Regions from separate parts of the Homo sapiens genome. Here all the other regions are linked to region 3. The links are contacts of gene promoters, found by promoter capture Hi-C in human tissues and cell types (Jung and others, 2019). All regions are on one chromosome and are shown on one strand. Each heading gives the region's core, a stretch centred on a gene start or on the middle of the fragment in contact. The rest is flanking DNA. Distances are from core to core; before and after follow the strand shown.

Region 1 (2,700 bases), core at 192-2,691, 220 kb after region 3:
ATCTACAGCACTCTCCACCCAAGATCAACAGAATATACGTTGTTCTCAGCATCTCATTGCACTTATTCTAAAATTGACCACATAATTGGAAGTAAAACACTCCTGAGGAAATGTAGAGAACAGAAATCATAACAAACAGTCTCTCAGATCACAGTGCAATCAAACTAGAACTTAGGATTTAAAAACTCACTCAAAACCACACAACTACATGGAAACTGAACAACCTGCTCCTAAATGACCACTAGGTAAATAACAAAATGAAGGCAGAAATAAAGATGTTCTTTGAAACCAATGAGAATGAAGACACAACAAACCAGGATCTCTGGACACATTTAGAGCAGTGTGTAAAGGGAAATTTATAGCACTAAATGTCCACAAGAGAAAACAGGAAAGATCTAAAATTGACACCCTAAAATCAAAATGAAAAGAACTAGAGAAGCAACAGCAAACAAATTCAAAATCTAGCAGAAGACAAGAAATAACTGAGATCAGAGCAGAACTGAAGGAGATAGAGACATGAAAAACCCTTCAAAAAATTAGTGAATCCAGGAGCTGGTTTTTTGAAAAGATCAACAAAGTAGATAGACCACTAGCCAGACTAATAAAGAAGAAAAGAGAGAAGAATCAAATAGATGCAATAAAAAAATGATAAAGGGGATATCACCACTGATCCCACAGAAATACAAACTACCATTAGAGAATACTATAAACACCTCTACGCAAATAAACTAGAAAATCTAGAAGAAAATAAATTCCTGGACACATACACTCTCCTAAGTCCAAACCAGGAATAAGTCAAATCCCTGAATAGACCAATAACAACTTCTGAAATTGAGGCAGTAATTAATAGCCTACAAACCAAAAAAAGTCCAGGACCAGACAGATTCACAGCTGAATTCTGCCAGAGGTACAAAGAGGAGCTGGTACCATTCCTTCTGAAACTATTCCAAACAATAGAAAAAGAGCAAATCTTCCCTAACCCATTTTATGAGGCCAGCATCATCCTGATACCACAACCTGGCAGACACAACAAAAAAAGAAAATTTCAGGCAATATCCCTGATGAACATCGATGCAAAAATCCTCAATAAAATACTGCCAAACCAAATCCAGCAGCACATCAAAAAGCTTATCCACCACGATCAAGTCAGCTTCCTACCTGGGATGCAAGCCTGGTTCAACATACGCAAATCAATAAACGTAATCCATCACATAAACAGAAACAATCACAAAAACCACATGATTATCCCAATAGATGCAGAAAAGTCCTTCAACAAAATTCAACACCCCTTCATGCTAAAAACTCTCAATAAACTGGGTATCAATGGAACGTATCTCAAAATAATAAGAGCTATTTATGACAAACCCACAGCCAATATCATACTGAATGGGCAAAAACTGGAAGCATTCCCTTTGAAAACCAGCACAAGACAAGAATGCCCTCTCTCACCATTCCTATTCAACATAGTATTGGAAGTTCTGGCCAGGGCCATCAGGCAAGAGAAAGAAATAAAGGGTATTCAAATAGGAAGAGAGGAAGTCAAATCGTCTCTATTTGCAGATGACATGATTGTATATTTAGAAAACCCCATAGTCACAATGCAAAATCTCCTTAAGCTGATAAGCAACTTCAGCAGTCTCAGAATACAATATCAATGTGCAAAAATCACAAGCATTCCTATGCACCAATAACAGACAAACAGAGAGCCAACTCATGAGTGAACTCCTATTCACAATTGCTGCTAAGAGAATAAAATGCCAAGGAACATAACTTACAAGGGATGTGAAGAACCTCTTCAAGGAGAACTACAAACCACTGCTCAAGGAAGTAAGAAAGGACCCAAACAAATGGAAAAACATTCTATGCTCATGGATAGGAAGAATCAATATCGTGAAAATGGCCATACTGTCCAAAGTAATGTATAGATTCAATGCTATACCCATCAAGCTACCACTGACTTTCTTCACAGAATTGGAAAAAACTACTTTAAAGTTCATATGGAACCAAAAAAGGGCCCGCATAGCCAAGACAATCTTGGGCAAGAAGAACAAAGCTGGAGATACCACGCTACTTGACTTCACACTATACTACAAGGCTACAGTAACCAAAACAGCATAGTACTGGTACCAAAACAGATACATAGACCAAAGGAACAGAACAGAGGCCTCAGAAATAACACCACACATCTACAACCATCTGATCTTTGACAAATCTGACACAAACAAGGAATGGGGAAAAGAATTCCCTATTTAATAAATGTTGTTGGGAAAACTGGCTAGCCATATGCAGAAAACTGAAACTGGACCCCTTCCTTGTACCCTATACAAAAATCAACTCAAGATGGATCAAAGACTTAAAGGTAAGACCTAGGACCATAAAAATCCTAGAAGAAAACCTGGGCAATACCATTCAGGACATAGGCATGGGCAAAAACTTCATGTCTAAGACACCAAAAGCAATGGTAACAAAAGCCAAAACAGACAAATGGGATCTAATTAAACTAAAGAGCTTCTGCACAGCAAAAGAAACTATCATCAGAGTGGAGAAATAGGAACACTTTTACACTGTTGGTGGGAGTATAAATTAGTTCAACCATTGTGGAAGACAGTGTGGCAATTCCTAAGGATCTAGAACTAGAAATACCATTTGACCCAGTGATCCCATTATGGGGTATATACCCAAAGGATTATAAATCATTTT
Region 2 (2,753 bases), core at 215-2,714, 200 kb after region 3:
ACAGGCCACCCCTTCAGCTTCTGCAAACTATAAATGTCACAAACATTTGAAACCACCCACAGAGGACCAACCTAAATCTACGTGGGCTCATCTACTCAATCCCACAACAGTCACTAAGCATAAAACACACAAAACAAAGCCAAAAGGAAAAAAATGTTTTCACACTATAGCACGGAAGAAAACTTAATAAGCAAACACTTGTCCATAAAGAGTTGACAGCAAAAAACCTCCCAGACACCAAATGAAAACAATATCTGAATGTGAACTTGGCACAAGAACAAACGGAATGAAGTTATGAAAGCTAGGATTTGGAAAGTGCTGCAATCATTTATAATAGCAGCAACTGTCCTGAATTCCCCTCATCAAAAAATAACATGGAGGCAGGCTACCAGCCACCAGTTTCAGGATCTTACAATGTGTCCCAAGGGTATAATGGTGTAATGGAAAGAAATAGTGTAGGGGCCAGAATGCCTGATTCCTAGGCCCATTTCTACCACAATCCGGTTATAGGACCTTGGGCATGTCATTACAGATAGGGAAAAAGTCTCAGAAGTCATCTCAGAGATGACCTAAGGGCCCTATAGTCTATATCTACACTCTAGGGCTTAGGCTATTGCTTTTGGTGGGGACTGAGGGTAGAGGTGGGTGAAGAAAGGAGGCAGGAGAAAAGATTAGAAGGTTTACTTGTTTATATTAAGGATCTTACATGGAAGATGTTGAAATAAAAACAGAATCATAATCAAGAATCTTTGGGAGATACAGAAAAGACCTGTCCTTGCCCCCAGGAAATTTACAATGTAGCTCCTGAGATAAAATAAACAGAGAAGAAGGAAATTTTCTCTGGTCAAGAAAGTCCAATCTTCCACCATAGATATATATACATAATAGAGATACACGAGATACACACACACACAAACACACACACACACACACACACACGATATTCTCATAAGATGATTTTCTAACCTCTACTTGAATACCTCCAAGTTTACTCCTTCACAAGTCAGCCCATTTAATTGTTAGAAAACAAATTCTAAAGTTCCTTCTTATGGTGAGTGAAAATCAAATCAATTTCTCTCATAAATGCTGGCCGTGGTTCTGCACTCTAGTTTCACAGAATACGTTAACCCTTCTTCCTCAATCAAATCATAAAATATTTGAAAGGGACTACTCCATTTCACCCCTGCTACCCATTCCCAAGCCAGGTTAAACACCAAACTTCTTTCAACCCTTCATTTGACATGGTTTCCAGAGTGATCATTGGCTAAGACTCCCTGAGTCTGGTTTGGCAGAGCAACTCTTAACATATGGCACCAAAAATGGAACACAACGGTCTAAGTGCAGTCTGACAATTTAACTCTATTCAAAGAAACATTTATTGAGTGCTTTCTGTGCTCCAGACTAATATTTTTCTTGATCTTGACTACATTTCTATTAATGACCCCTAAAACCACATTAGCTTTGTTTGTTTTGGTCCATTTCACACTATCGGGATAAAAACAAGACCAGATTCTCTTATCCAAATCATTAGTTTACTCCTCTGCTGCCAGTTCTATAGACATCATAGCATGATGGGACAATCAAAAGTTTTGAGCCATCTGAACCTGTGTGGACCATTATTTACTAGATGCATGACCTAATACTGGAACTTGCAACTTTTCATCCAAGTCCCTGATAAAAACAGTTAAAAAGGCAAAGCCAATGACAGATTTGTTTGGCACATAAGATTATCCTCTATATTGACCATCCACCAATCCCATTAAACAGTGATTGCCTGTTATGCTGCAGGAATGGAGGACGAGATAGTCTAATTAGTGAAGGAAAAGAAAAGTGAAGCACTAAACCTGTGCCAGGCGCTTAACATACGTTACCTCACTTGATAATAATTTTGTAAGATAGTCATATTGTCTTCATAGAGAAAGAAATTGGGGAATTAAGTAAGCAAGGTTTCTAAGATCATGCTGGTAAGAGTGGAAAAGCTGGAATCAAACACAGTTCTCTCACTCCTAATACCAACAATTACATGGTGAGATTTGAGCATGGGAAGAATAAGTGTGGTCAAGATGGATTGGTGGGCTAGGGGAGGCAGGAAAGAGTATGCAGGATGGCAAAAGTAATGTGAAATGAGATATAAAGGTAGAAAGATTAAGTTGAAGCCAAATTACAAAGGGTCTTGAATTGTATACTAGCAAATTTGGAATTCAATCTGTAGGTTATTAAAAATCAACCCCTGCTGGTTATGGTTAGTCAACCAGTTCAAATACTTGAAAACTAATTTCACAGATAATGATAAGGTCTTTGGAGACAAAGCACTATAAGTGGAGCATGTGTTGAGGTTGTTATTTTAGATAGGGTTGTTAGGGAAGGCTTTCTAAACAGAAGGGATTTAAGTCAAGGAGAAAGTGATACAGGTATCTCAGAGAAGAGCATGCCAGGTAGAAAGACCCTGAGTATATCTGGCATATTCATGTTTGAGAAGCATAAAGAAAGTCAGTCAGGTTGGAAAGTAAGTAGAGAAAATAAGTAGAAAATAAAGATCAAGAGATAGCAAGAGCCAGATCATATAGGATTCTGGATTTTATTCTTAGTGTAATGAGAAGTCCCTAGACAGGGTTTTGAACAGAGCAGGAAGTAACATGATTCAATTTATTATTTTTATAATACTTTATTGAAATCATAATACATTAATTTATGGTTCCCTAAAATACCAGTCTATAACTATCCAAAAAAAGAAAGATTAGTTTGGCATACTT
Region 3 (2,767 bases), core at 16-2,515:
GGGCGGCACTGAAGTCCAATACTCAGGTCTCTGCGTCCTGCATACCTCATGTAGCTCTCACTACTCTGAGCTTTTTTTCCCTTTCTCGGGTAAAATAATAAAAGAAAAACTCAGAAAAGATATCAAAAGGAATTCTCATGCATAGTACATTTTACTACCTAGAGAGGCACAGCACGACAGTGGATGGATTCCTCCCACAAAGCCTAAGCTGTCTCTTGGCTTAGCCTGTTTCATCTTCCCCCCGCCCCCCATATACTGAGCGACCACCCTAAATAAACGCGACAAACTGCGGCACACTAGTAATGGACGAGCAAAGGCAACAAAAATCTTTCCAACAACAAGAAAAATAAGCAGTAGCTCCGCATTGGTAATTAACGATTGCAAACCCATTTATGCAACACTTTCTCTTCTAAAAATTTTCTGTCCACTCGTTAAACCTTCGCGACAACCCTGTCAGATCATGAGGCAGGTGTTTTCCACGGTCACACGGTATACCATTAAAACCTGGACGGGAACGCGGCAAATACCATGAGGGCCCAAATTCCCTAACTGCTCCTTTGCCCAGCCTCACCTAAAGACCTAAGGGGCCTAAAAACTTTTGCGTCCCTGCTGGCCTTCAGCTAACGCGGCCGGGGGTAGGATGGGAAGCCGTGGGGCAAGGGAGGTTGCAGGAAGCCCATCCTTCCCCTCCTGCGGCAGGTACGGTGACCCTCCTCCAGTTTTCCAGCTCTAATTTAAAACGCTGCCACACAGCGAGCGACGCTGCCAGCTGCTTCGCCTACACTAACCCTTGCGCCTCACGACCAGCTGCATTAGAAACCACCACCCCTTTTCTCACGGGAGAAACACCGGGGCCAGATAGGTCAAATGACCTCACCAAGGTCACAATGGCTGTGAAAAAGCGCAGCGGGTACCAGCCCCGGGCCAGCTCACTCCGAAGCCAGCTGGGTTCTCGAGGGTCCCGCAGCCCACCCGGCTTCGGTGGGGCCGTCGCAACCCACCCCGGTCCGTGGTCCGCCCGCCGCCCTCCCTCAGGCCGCAGCGGAAGCGTGAGAGAGTAGATGCGGGAGAGGCCTGAAGCTGCACCACGGCGGAGACACACAGTCACGACTAAATCCGAGGCAGAGAGAAAGCGGGAGGGTGCCGTTGTGACAACCCGCAGTGTCGGGGTAGGGATGCAAAAGGGACCGGACTCACCTCAACACCAACGTCCTTCCTGACTAAAGGAAAAACGAACCGTGCTGTAGCCGCGCGCAGGCGCAGAATAAGAGTGCACAGCGAGAACGCGGCGACGGTAGCCGAAGGAGTTCAAAAGACCTCTAGTGCGCCCACCGCAGGTGACAGCCGAAGTTCATTTCGTGGTCTGCTTCTTTCCTGTGTGACCTTGCAAAACGGGCTTGACCTCCTTATTTATCGACCTCTTTATCTTCTTAGTAAATTGAAGATATTAGTCGTACTCATACACAGAGTCCCAAACCATGTGCACAAACCGACATTTTAATTATAACCAACCTTACGCGAATAACCGTTTGGCTTGGGTAAAAGTGAAAAAGCTGACTTCTAGGAGCTCACAGCCCAGAAGATGAAAAAGACAAACAGATTAATACCGATCCCATGCAGTGGGCACTACCACAGAGACGTGGCCCAGCTACTGCAGAAGCAATTCTCTACCTGGCAAAGCTGAGGACGTTTTGATAGAGGGGCGGTATTTTTGTGGGTTTCTTAAGAAAACAAGGATTTTGAAGGAAGGCAACTGGAAGTTCGTGGAAAGTGGTGTAGAAGGGTGAGGCTCTTGTGCCTTAATGATGCCAGGCTGTTTGTATTGAAATAACCTGAATTTTAAAAGCATTATTTAAGTCAACCCATCAAGCCCTGTGGAAGGTAGCTGGGACACAACAGATGCATGATATTGAGTCGATATATACACTGAGTACCTACTATGTGCCAGATTCTGCTAAACAAGAGGACAGATCTTCGGGGAGTCTCATTCTGATCAGGGAGTCTTTGTCCTCAACCTATTAACCAACACTCTGGAGGGTGAAACCTGGCCACAAAGAAAGGTGCTCAATTGAGGTTCAAAAGTAGGTTTGGACTTTACCAACGTTTTTCAGGCCTCTTATCAAGGGTCTACCCAGCTGAAAATCTTTGCATGGAATTTGTCCAGAGAGTAATTTGTTTCTATTCTCTTTCCATCCCCACCCCCAGAGAAGAAGTGGTGAACTTAAGAGTTCACAGGGATTAGTGTATGTGAAACCATCAGGGAAAGCTTCAGACAATACGTGGAAGAGATGGAAGCAGAGCTGAGTTTCAGTCTAATGGAAAGCCTGGAAAACTGGAGAAATTGGAGAGAAAACATTGGCTGGGAGAACATGGCAAAGACAGGCACACTCAGGGCACAGAGCCTGACCTGAGTGAAATACTGAGTGTTTGTTCTGTGCTTCCCTAGCTATCCAGTGAACCATAGTGAATGACTGAGGGTGACACGTGAATAAAACCTGAGCGATAGATGAAGAGAGACATGTTACATATAGGTTCTGTTCTAGAGCCGAACAGACCTGGATTTGAGTCCCAGCTCATCAACTTGTAGCGGCAAATTTCTTCATCTTTCTAAGTCTGCTTTCTCCTCTAAAAATAGTACCCATTTTGTTGGGTTGTGATGTAAATTAAATGGGATAATGTATATGCAGCTTGAGTATCCCTTATCTGAAATATTTGAGACCAGAAGTGTTTCAGATTTTGGATTTTTTCAGATTTTTGAGTATTTGCA

What was found. The method cuts DNA at HindIII sites, captures the fragments that hold promoters and counts their contacts. A contact is called where the count stands out against the background at its distance.
Region 1: a fragment that was not itself captured here is called in contact with the fragment with the promoter of COX6C in region 3 in 3 of the 25 tissues and cell types used here (H1 embryonic stem cells, bladder and thymus).
Region 2: a contact is called between a fragment that was not itself captured here and the fragment with the promoter of COX6C in region 3, in 1 of the 25 tissues and cell types used here (aorta).

What each region holds. Positions count from the first base shown.
Region 1 is chr8:100,111,256-100,113,955 of GRCh38, forward strand. No RefSeq gene overlaps it. Among named protein-coding and RNA genes, the nearest start is that of RGS22, 6.6 kb to the left of the region's middle. The HindIII fragment of the contact is 8,380 bases long and covers 1-2,700 here.
Region 2 is chr8:100,088,297-100,091,049 of GRCh38, forward strand. The region is part of intron 3 of RGS22 (regulator of G protein signaling 22); the gene reads right to left. Among named protein-coding and RNA genes, the nearest start is that of RGS22, 16 kb to the right of the region's middle. The HindIII fragment of the contact is 7,696 bases long and covers 1-2,753 here.
Region 3 is chr8:99,892,442-99,895,208 of GRCh38, forward strand. It overlaps COX6C (cytochrome c oxidase subunit 6C), which reads right to left and starts at 1,266. Exons shown (of 4, transcript NM_004374.4): 1 at 1,198-1,266. RefSeq lists enhancers at 108-756, 757-1,404 and a silencer at 878-1,047. The HindIII fragment of the contact is 7,152 bases long and covers 1-2,767 here.